Regions from separate parts of the Homo sapiens genome. Here region 2 is linked to region 1. Evidence: promoter capture Hi-C in human tissues and cell types (Jung and others, 2019). All regions are on one chromosome and are shown on one strand. Each heading gives the region's core, a stretch centred on a gene start or on the middle of the fragment in contact. The rest is flanking DNA. Distances are from core to core; before and after follow the strand shown.

Region 1 (5,191 bases), core at 1,270-3,769:
GGTAACCCGCTGTGCCAAGCGGTGGGCATCTTGGAGCAACTGGCTGAACTGCTGCCTTCAGTTAGCAGCGTCCTCACCTAAGAGGCCCTGCCCCCTACCCTTGCCCTTTAACTTATTGGGACTGAATAAAGAATGGAGAGGCCCTCTCAGGCTACCAAGCTGTTGTCGCTGCTATCACTACACCACCACCTTCATCACTTTTATTTTTTGAAAAGAAAGGGAAGAGACATGGGGTGTTGCCAGCTCCTTCTTTCTGCGCCATCCTATTGTTTCCTCTCAGAGAGAGCCAAGGCTTCAGTGTTTGGGGCAGAATTCAGGGTGAAGGCTGAGCTTTTGTTTACCTTCTGGTTTGGGGTGGGGGCTGGGACTGGGTCTAGATTCCAAGCAGGAATAGGGCTTGGGCTCAGGTTCTGGCTCTGGTAAGCTACAGAGCAGCTGTGAGTTTCTCCAGCTGGAAGCATCATACAATTTTTTCCCATGACCCCTGCACCTTCCACATGTTCCCCCTGCCCTGGCCCCCATTCACCATAGCTGGGGAGGCTCAAGGGCTCCACGTTCCCAGGAATGGGCCAGGGTGTCCTTGCTCCGTCCTGCCTGAACAACACTATCGGTCCCCATGAGTAGCATTCTACGGTTGAAGTACCTTTGAGAATACTTGATACCATTTGATCCTCACAGAGTCTCAGGGATGAGATTTTTAGGCCCAGTGTACTGATGAGGAAACTGCTGTTGAGACTTGCCCAAGGTTCTTGGCCGGAGCGCTTCAGCACTGAAACCAAAGTTGTCTCTACCCTTGGTCTAGGATTCTAGACTCATGTTCTTGCTTCTGTATTGCTAAGGAATGGTTGGGCAGCGGCCTGGCCTCAGCTCCTTGAGGTCCTGAGCTGAGTGTCTGCTCCCATGGTGTCCCCCCACACATACCATGTACACACCTTGTCCTGACCTAGAGAGTCCTGAGTGGTGGTGGGGGGAGGGGACTGGCTCAGGGGTTAGGGCACTGACTCAAACCTGGCTGGGTGGGGAGAGAAAGATTGATTAAAGCTAGGGAGAGAGTGTGACAAAGGCATCCTACTGGTTCTCTGGGATCTGCCTGGGCCCACATGTGCTCACACACGTCCGGACAGCCAGGGCCCTGCCCCTTCCCGTATCTGCAGTGATGCACAAATCCGCAGCCCCTGCACAAAGCCCTCTGGCTGACCTGCCTGGAAGTTTATATCCACTGGTGTGTCTACTGAGGGTGTTGGAGGTGGGGCACCTGCCCCCACCCCCGGGCAGGTTCTGGTGCTTGGAGCTGGACAAGAAAAGGCAGTGTGGGTGTGGAGGGCTCCCTGCCAGTTCCTGGGGCCTCTCTGTCCCCACTCCCCACGGCACCTCCCTGCCTGATGCATCACCAAACAGCCCCTCCTGGATTCTGTTTCCTTGTGTCTTCTTGTCGGCCTGTTTTTACTGTCTTCTGCTAGGCGGCCCATGGGCAGAGCTGGGACACTAGTGGGAAGGAAGGAAAGAAGGAAGAAGGCCCTGGCTGACGGGCCTGAGGACAAGACCCAAGGAGAGCCTCCCTGAAGATGCCTAGCCTCCTCCTCTCTACCTTGGGATCGCCTTGGTGCCATCCTCAGTGTTTCCCCAGTGACGGGGTGGAGTAAGGATGCACACAGCACAGGTGCCTGAGCCGGTTGGTCTGGATTCCCAGGAAGAATTCCAGGTTGGAGAAAAGGGAATCCTCTAGTCCAACTGAGCAGAGACTCCTCTCAGTGAGAGAAAGGTACTCTGTACCCCTGGAAGGGGGACTCAGTTCCCACCCAAGCCTGAGTGGAAAGGCCTAAACATCCCCTAACCCCCGAGGCTACAGCGGGGGTGGGGGACGTGAAATGAGATTGCTCCTACTCTGATCTCCCTAATCCCAAACTTGAGGGCAGCTCACTCATGCCTGGGGCTGTAGAGCAGCTGAGAAAGAAGGGACAGACTTGGGGGTGGAGGGAGTCAGAATATCTGGTAGAGCCAGCAGGTCAGGGGTTAGCTGGTGGAGCCAGTCTGAGGGCCTGGCTGCTGATGTCACCAGTCTGCAACCTGGGATCCCAGGACCTCCCTGGGCAGGATGAGTTCCAGGACCAGGCCCCTGGGCCAATTTCATAGGGCTGAGCCTGGCTTGGGCTGCACAGAACTCGGCAGCAGGAGCCTGTGAGAGCAGAGGTAGGCAGCCTAAGCTTGGGACCAGAAGGTCGGCCAGACAGGGCTGTGGGTGGAAGGGCCTGCCTGCCCCACTGCCCTTGCAGCTTCTTCATCCGGGAGAAGGGGCTCCTCACATGCCCAGTCTGGTAGGAATCAGCCTGGTGCCAGGGGCCATCACAGCGGTGGCTCCCACCAAAGCCCAGCCTAAGCCCCCAGACCTCACCCCTGCTCCCTCCCTAGCATCTTCTCCCCATTTCCCGCCCAGAGGCCTGGCCTCTTCTCTCCGCCCCCTACAGCAGTTTGGCCCCTCCCTCCCACATAAGTCACTTACCAGGTCTGTCCCTGCGGCATCCAGTCTGTGGGTCCTGTCCCATCCATCCTGACCTGTTCCATCTCAGCCCCAGGACTCAGTACTGCGGTTGCCAACACTGCTGCCAGGTGAGGGGCTCCCACGGGTACTGTGGTGCCGAGTCCAGGCGGCCCACACTATCAGAGGCCGTGCCTGGATCCAGCAAGGTGGGGTGTGGGCCAGCTGTGTACCTGTCAGCCCCAGCTAGGCTGTTCCCAACACCAAGACTCTGCTTTCCCTGTGCACAGGCTCCGGGCACCTGCCATGCCCTACCCCTCCTGGCAGCCCCAAGTGGGGTCTTCCCTGACTTGGGAATGCCAAGGACCACAGGCCCCGGGGTCACTTGTCTGTCTTGTGAGGAACCTTGAGTTGGGGGATTTCTGCTAAGAAATGAGTTCTAGAAGCTGTCAGTGTTGTGCACCTCTAGACTGCAGAGCTAGCAGGTGGACGGACCAGGCCCAGGGATGCTGGAGCACTCTGATGTGTGTGCAGCTGGGTCTTGAGGCTGGGACAAGTGTCCATGCAGGGAACTATGTGGATTTCCTGGGATGGATCGTTGAGTGGGTTTCTTCATTGGGCAGTTTTTCGGATGTTGTTTGGTGGGGGTGAGGGGAAGGCTTTTCTCTGCAGCATGAGAAGCTTCTCTGGGTGAGTCTGAATGGTCTTCGCGGAAGGTCTCTGGATGTGTCTGGAGAATCTCTGGGCCAAGGTGGGATTGTTTCGGTCATCGGGTGGGACTGAATCAGCTGTCTGGATGGAGGGTTTCTGGGTCAACTGGCTGGGACTACCTGGGTTAAGGAGCCACCCTGCCTCTTCCTAACAGGCATGATGGATGGGCCACGTTCCGATGTGGGCCGTTGGGGTGGCAACCCCTTGCAGCCCCCTACCACGCCATCTCCAGAGCCAGAGCCAGAGCCAGACGGACGCTCTCGCAGAGGAGGAGGCCGTTCCTTCTGGGCTCGCTGCTGTGGCTGCTGTTCATGCCGAAATGCGGCAGATGACGACTGGGGACCTGAACCCTCTGACTCCAGGGGTCGAGGGTCCAGCTCTGGCACTCGAAGACCTGGCTCCCGGGGCTCAGACTCCCGCCGGCCTGTATCCCGGGGCAGCGGTGTCAATGCAGCTGGAGATGGCACCATCCGAGGTGAGGCCGGTCTGTCCTCCTCAGCTGAGAGCTAAAAGGCTTTAATGGGACCAGAGACTCAGCCTGGCATTTCTGGGGGGGATAGGAAGCTAATGATAAGGGCCTGGGCTCCTCATGGGGCTTCACTGACACGGAGCTGTGTCCTTGCAGAGGGCATGCTAGTAGTGAACGGTGTGGACTTGCTGAGCTCGCGCTCGGACCAGAACCGCCGAGAGCACCACACAGACGAGTATGAGTACGACGAGCTGATAGTGCGCCGCGGGCAGCCTTTCCATATGCTCCTCCTCCTGTCCCGGACCTATGAATCCTCTGATCGCATCACCCTTGAGTTACTCATCGGTCAGTGGGGCTTGGATTGGGACGGGTGAAGGCCCTATGTTTGGTGGGGAGAGGCTGGCATTAGGGTCAGAGAGGTCTTTAGGCTCCTCCCTGCCCCACTCCTCACCTCTGCCAGATAAGGCAGGTGCAAGTGTGTGGGTGTGCCCCTGGGGTTGTGTCTCAGAGAGGGTCTTGGTGTTGCAGTTTTTCCCAAGCCCATCCTCCTCAAGCCTCCTGGGGCATCGGTCTCAGAGTACTCCTCTTCAGGGCCTGCCTCGGTGCCTCCTTCGGCATTGCTGCTCTGTCCTTTGTGCATCTGTTCTCATTCCCCAGGATGTGGCTGGTTCTCTCTTCTATCTCTCTCTCTCCCTCTTGCCTTCCATGTCCCCCATCTCTGCCAATTCTGTCTCTCTCTGTCTCTGTCCCTCTGTCCCCATGACCCAAGGCAGGTGCCTCCCTTACCGCGTTGCTTGGTGTAGCTTGACTTCTCAGGCTGGTGATTATGCTGCTGCCTGGGGCAGGTGACTCCTTTTACCCTTTGATTAGGGCCTAACCTTGCCCACCTCATCCTTTAATTTCCCAGGAACCCCTACCACCTCCACCAGGGATGCCCTGGGCTCTGGAAGCTGCAGCCCCAGGAAGCAGGCAGGGTTGGCCTTCAGGATCAGGACTGCCCTTTCATACGGGGCAGGTGGATCTGCCCCTCCAGCCCAGGCACTGTGATAGTCAGGCAGGCAGAAGGTGACAGGAGCCCTCGTCTCTCCTCCCCACCTCAGAGTTCAGTGTCAGGGGAACAGGTTTGGGATGTTGGACTGCGGCACTGCCCTAACATGTGGGCAAGCATTGGGTGGAGACAGAGCTGCTCTAAGGGAGACTGTCAGAGAATAAGGTGATGGCCCAACGTAGGGACATACACAGTGGCTCATACACATTGTGGGTGGGGCCGGGAGAAGTCCCAGGCTCCATCCCCTCTCCTCAGGGAGGCCTTGCCAGCTAATTGCTGATTTCCTACTCTAGGAAACAACCCCGAGGTGGGCAAGGGCACGCACGTGATCATCCCAGTGGGCAAGGGGGGCAGTGGAGGCTGGAAAGCCCAGGTGGTCAAGGCCAGTGGGCAGAATCTGAACCTGCGGGTCCACACTTCCCCCAACGCCATCATCGGCAAGTTTCAGTTCACAGTCCGCACACAATCAGACGCTGGGGAGTTCCAG
Region 2 (5,375 bases), core at 720-3,219, 220 kb after region 1:
AGCAGAAACGAATGAGAAGGGCAGGGACAGAGGAAGCTGCCCCCACCCGCCCTTTACCAGGTGTGCTCCAGGTGTGTGGCATGTGGCAAAGACTCCTCACATTTACACTGCACTTGATAAACACATTCTAAAAGCAGACGGAGTTTGTTATCGATAGTGATAGGATATCAATAACTCCATGAAGCTTCATAGCCTAGGGAGAGGGGTAAGGTCTGGACCAGGGCTGCAGTAAGTAAGGGAGGTGCATTTATTCACGTTGATAAAAACTTCCTTCTGGGCGGGGCGTGGTGGCTCACGCCGGGAATCATGGCACTTTGGGAGGTCACGGTGGGAGGACCACTTGAACTGAGCAGTTTGAGAGAAGCCTGGGCAACATAGGGAGACCTTATCCCTATATTTAAAAAAACAACAACAATGACAACAACAACAACAACAAATCTTCCTTCTTAGGAACTATCGTCAAAATAACTTCTATTTCTTAAAACATCTTTTTTGAAAACTACCCTAAGATCTGCTGCTAACCATTTAAGGTTGGCTTCTTTCTTTTTTTAGATGGAGTCTTCCTCTGTCACCCAGGCTGGAGTTCAGTGGCATGATCCCAGCTCACTGCAGCCTTGACCTACTGGGTTCAAGCCATCCTCCTGCCTCAGCCCCCCAAGTAGCTGAGAATACAGGTGCGTGCCATCACACCTGGGCAATTTTTGTACTTTTTGTAGAGACAGGGTCTTGCCATGTTGCCCAGGCTGGTCTGGAACTCCTGAGCTAAAGCCATCCGCCTGCCTCGGCCTCTCAAAGTGTTACAGGTGTGAGCCACCAGGAAGTTGGCCTTATTTCTTTTGCAGTGTTTTCTTCCCACCTCCTATTCTTCTAAGGCTGTCTCTGACCCTATGCTCTTTTCTTTACATTTTCCCATTTGGGAGCTCCTTCATTCTCGTGATTTCAAATCTCACCCCAAAATCTATTTCCAGACCCCTCCTCTTCCTTTCACACTGAGTTCCACCCACATTTCTCCAAGTGCTTACTGTCCAGTTCTTCTTGAATAAGTTACCATTATTTCAAAGTCAATCTGGCCACACTTACCTGAATGGAAAAACTGGCTTAAATAGAGCTGTAGAAAGTTACCCTGGAGGGGCCTTTGAGATCATCTATTCCAATGTCCTTAAGGTGGAGATGATGAAACAGGTTCAGGGAATTTTCTCAAGATCATATAGTTCAGTAGTAACACACTGGGGCTAGCTAAGAACAGGAGGCCTGCTTATTCCGTGTTGGGGAAAGTGATTTGTTCAGGGCATAAAGCTAGTTAGTGGTGGAAGAACTGAGGTCAGTCTCCCACTTTGTAGCACAGAGCTAATTCGTAAGAGCCCTCTGAAAGTGAGCTGGGGTCATTAGGAAACCGGCTGCCCAGGAGAGCCATGATGGGAGAAGATACCAGCCTGAATTTAAAGCAATTCCATATTTGGTTATGATGTCATTTTCCCTGTCTCTGTCTCTCTCTTTTGACCTGGAGGCATGAAAGATTCAAGGCAGAAAGGGAAATTTAAACTGAGAAAGCCAAGAAAGGCAACATCTCACCTCCTTAATAAGTTATAAGTAGGTAGTGAGGCATGTGCTAGAGTAATGAATGGCCAAGCAGAATCTGCCAACAAGGGTTTTCAGTACAAAGCCACCCTGAAACCAGACTTTGCATTTGCCTGGAACTGGCAATTTTGATGCCTTGGGCAAGTAGCAGTACATGGGCCCTTGGTCAATTTTGTGCTCCGGATTTGGCCCACGGAGGGGTGTTATTAACAATGTACACCATCTGCTAGCTTCCCATTTTAACTAATTATTCTTGTTAACTAGGTGCTAACCTTCAACACAGTTGAAGAAATGCCTGGGCTGTCAACGTGTAAATCTAACAAAATTTAAAGTCAAGTACTCTTTTAAAACCAGTATGAATACTTTCTTGCACCCTTTAAATTTTGGTATCCTGGCACAAAGCCAAGTCACCTGCCTTGGCTCTGTGTAAGTCTCACCAATGTACTTGTTACTAGGGAGGTGCAGAATAAGTTAATAAGTGATGTGTGCTGTGCTCAGTGCACGTGTGTTTGGGCTGGGAGAAGACAGTGGATTGCTCCAGAATCACCTGGAGACATTTTCTACTCTGCTGCATACCCCATGCCCCTCTACTTCCAGGTCTGTCAGCACAGAGATGGGAGGAGGCTGGGTTTTGAATGAACAGAGACAGCAAACCATAAAAGATGAATGAGGCTGGGTGTGGTGGCTCACACCTATAATCCTAGCACTTTGGTACGGCCAGTAGGGAGGACCGCTTGAGGCCAGGAGTTCAAAACCAGCCTGGGCAATAAAGCCCCAACTCTACAACAAATTTAAAAGATGAACTGGCGTGGTGGTGCATGCCTATAATCTTAGCCACTTGGGAGGCTGACGGGGGAGGACTGCTTGAGCTCAAGAGTTGGAGGTTACAGTGAGCTATGATCATGCCACTGCACTCCAGCCTGGGCAACAGAGTGAGGCCCTGTCTCTGGGGGGAAAAGAAAAAGATGTCTTCTAAGTGTTCTAAATTGTGTGATCACTACACTAAAGTGGTTAGGAGCTGTTTGTTCTGTGTTCTGATAGTTATACATTTTTAAGAAAAAATATAATCAAGCAGATAGGCAGCTACTCTGGTTTCCACTTACAACACCAGTGAGAAGCTTCGTGGTGTGCAGATGAGGAGGCCACTGGGTAGTATCCATTCTCAGGGCAGTGGCTTTTCTCATTGCAGGGTAACATGTGACAACTGGCAGAAGACATTTCAAATTGCTGACAAGTATTCTATCATTCTCCTCTCTGACAATGGTCATACAAACTACCTGAGAGTCATTTTTGACTTCTCTATTTCCCACTTTTTGACATGGGGTTGGAAAATCTTGGTTCGTTTCCACTGAATGTCTCTTGGGCACATCTATTCCAGTCCCACCGCCACTGCTCTAAACCTGGACGACAGCAACAGCTTCCTCACTGATGCCCTGGATTTGGTGTCTCCTCTGTATATCCTTCCTACCAGAGCCAGATTAGCTTTCCTAATAACCATCTTTCTCTTGCTCAAAACCTCACATGGCTTCTTATTTGCTACAAGAGTGTGTAAACATATCCTTTTAAGAGGCTATATCCTTTTAAGGTCCTTAACGTATCCTTTTAAGAAGCTATGGCCGGGCGCAGTGGCTCACGCCTGTAATCCCAGCACTTTGGGAGGCTGAGTGGGTGGATCACCTGAGGTCAGGAGTTCAAGACCAGCCTGGCCAACATGGTGAAACCCCGTCTCTACTAAAAATACAAAAATTAGCTGGGCATGGTGGTGGGCACCTGTAATCCCAGCTACTCAGGAGGCTGAGGCAGGAGAATTGCTTGAACCTGGGAGGCAGAGGTTGCAGTAAGCCGAGATGGTGCCACTGTACTCCAGCCTAGGCGACAAGAGTGAAACTCCGTCACAAAAAAAAAAAAAAAAAAAAAAAAAAAAAAAAAAAAAAGATATGGAGGCCCATGGCCTCTATCTTTCCAATGCAGCCCCTTCCCCAGCAGTACTCCTGAGCCTGTGCTCTCCATTGTGGCCTGACAGTGCTCCTCTCTTTCCTTCAGTTCCTCCTTGGCTGTCTGCTCATTTTGCAGAGTTATCTGGAACCTCGTCACTATTCCATCTGTCCATTCCCATCCATTCCTTAAGGTTTAGCTCAAGTACCACCTCTGGGCCAGGCCTGTAGGCCATGTTAAGTGAACCTGGTGGGGGCCACAGGATGTTTTCCCAACAGGGTTTTCACATTACATTGCTACTTACATGTGATATGGTTAGTCACTAATTGACCCAGACTCCCAAACGGCTCCTTCCACCATCAGGATCAAGGCCCCAATCTTGGGCTCTGTCCACCAGCCTAGGCCAGGCAAGGTGACTTTCTAGGACTCACATTTGGCTCTTTCCAATGCACATTTGAGCATTTGCCAGACAGTTCCTTAAAAACGGAATTACCCTATACTGTCTACCATGCTACTGTCTACTATTGCTTAAGATCCTCCTCTTCTAAGATTATGCAAATTATTTCTGCCAACCTTCCAATCTGTTAGCACAACCCTGTACTTTCCATTTTTGGGTAGATTCTCCCTTCCACTCTGGAAAATAAAGTGTGTATCCTGAGCCTCAAGGGAAGAGGAGCTTGCTTTGCTGGATGGTTCATATTTCCTTCGGCAGCTGGAAGGCTGGTATCCACTACTAACTGTGACACTGACTTATATACTTTCTTTGAGACTAAAGTCCAGTACCTGGTAGTCCACAGGCAGCCAATAAAGGAAGGGAGCTTGGGAGGTCTGGGTCTTTCCTTACTGGCTGTGGGACCTTGGGAAGTTGCTCCAGCTATCTGAGCCAGCGTCTGCAGACCGAGAGAATAGTCCTTGCCTTGCTTGGGTTGTTGTCAGGTCTAGAGATAACCTGTGTAAGGCTCTGAACACAGGAAATGGCACATAGTAAGTGGTTGAAACATGGTGGGCTGCTTCCTGAAGTTCCCAGGGACTTGACTCTGTAAGCTGAAGAAGAGGGGAATGTTTATTAGCTCATGGGTGGGAACATCTATTTTGTGATTGTATTTACCCTTCTCATCTGTCCAGTTAGGTTGAAAATTACTGGAGAACCAGTACCAGCGGTTTCTTTGGGGTATGCAAGGGATGATGCAGGGTTGAAGCATTAGAATGTTTTAACATTCTCTGATTGGGATGGGATTATTCTCCAACTTTAATATATGGACATAATAGAAAGGCACACAATAAAAACGTGCTGGTGGGCTGGTTGGGTATGCAGAACACACTGTTATGTTTTAGTTAACATCACTGCGTTGGATCTCACCAATGCTGTCCAGGAAAGCAGGGAAGGAGGCTCAGGCTGGCTCCCTTTTCCACCTCCTGGCTCTGTGCCCATTTCCCTGCAGCTCACTGTGGCCACCAGCCGCTCCCAGTCCTTCATCTTCCCCACATGGCACACAGTGCCCGTCATGCTCAGCCCCTCCCCCTGCAGCGTGGCCACTGCCTGGTCCACATTCTGCTGCTTCCGGCGGCTGACTACCACGTGGGCCCCGTCTTGGGCCAGACGCTGGGCGACGGCGAAGCCGATCCTGTGAGCAGAGACAAAGACTGCTAAGGCTTGTGCAGGGGAAGAGATGGACAGCATGGGCTCTGAAGTTAGACTGCCCGGTTTTGAATTCTGGCTCTTTCTCTATATGACCTCCATGTGTCTCTACTACGTGTAAAACAGGCTTAATGGCACAGCCATTTTTGGCGTTCCTTTACTTATTTTTATTATCATCTTGGACTGCAGCCTCAGTTCCCAAGAACTGACATCACTTTCTACA

What was found. Contacts are between HindIII fragments. The study calls those that stand out against the background at their distance.
Region 2: a fragment that was not itself captured here is called in contact with the fragment with the promoter of TGM1 in region 1 in 1 of the 25 tissues and cell types used here (spleen).

The regions. Positions count from the first base shown.
Region 1 is chr14:24,260,505-24,265,695 of GRCh38, reverse strand. It overlaps TGM1 (transglutaminase 1), which reads left to right and starts at 2,519. Exons shown (of 15, transcript NM_000359.3): 1 at 2,519-2,607; 2 at 3,342-3,662; 3 at 3,813-4,001; 4 at 4,998-5,191. The coding sequence starts at 3,344. It overlaps RABGGTA (Rab geranylgeranyltransferase subunit alpha), which reads left to right. Exons shown (of 17, transcript NM_182836.3): 17 at 1-158. The coding sequence ends at 81. RefSeq lists an enhancer at 2,036-2,044 and promoters at 14-2,531, 914-2,580, 3,141-3,336, 1,591-3,344, 344-3,344. The HindIII fragment of the contact is 4,546 bases long and covers 1-2,681 here.
Region 2 is chr14:24,037,506-24,042,880 of GRCh38, reverse strand. It overlaps the pseudogene DHRS4L1. Among named protein-coding and RNA genes, the nearest start is that of CARMIL3, 12 kb to the left of the region's middle. The HindIII fragment of the contact is 6,357 bases long and covers 1-5,147 here.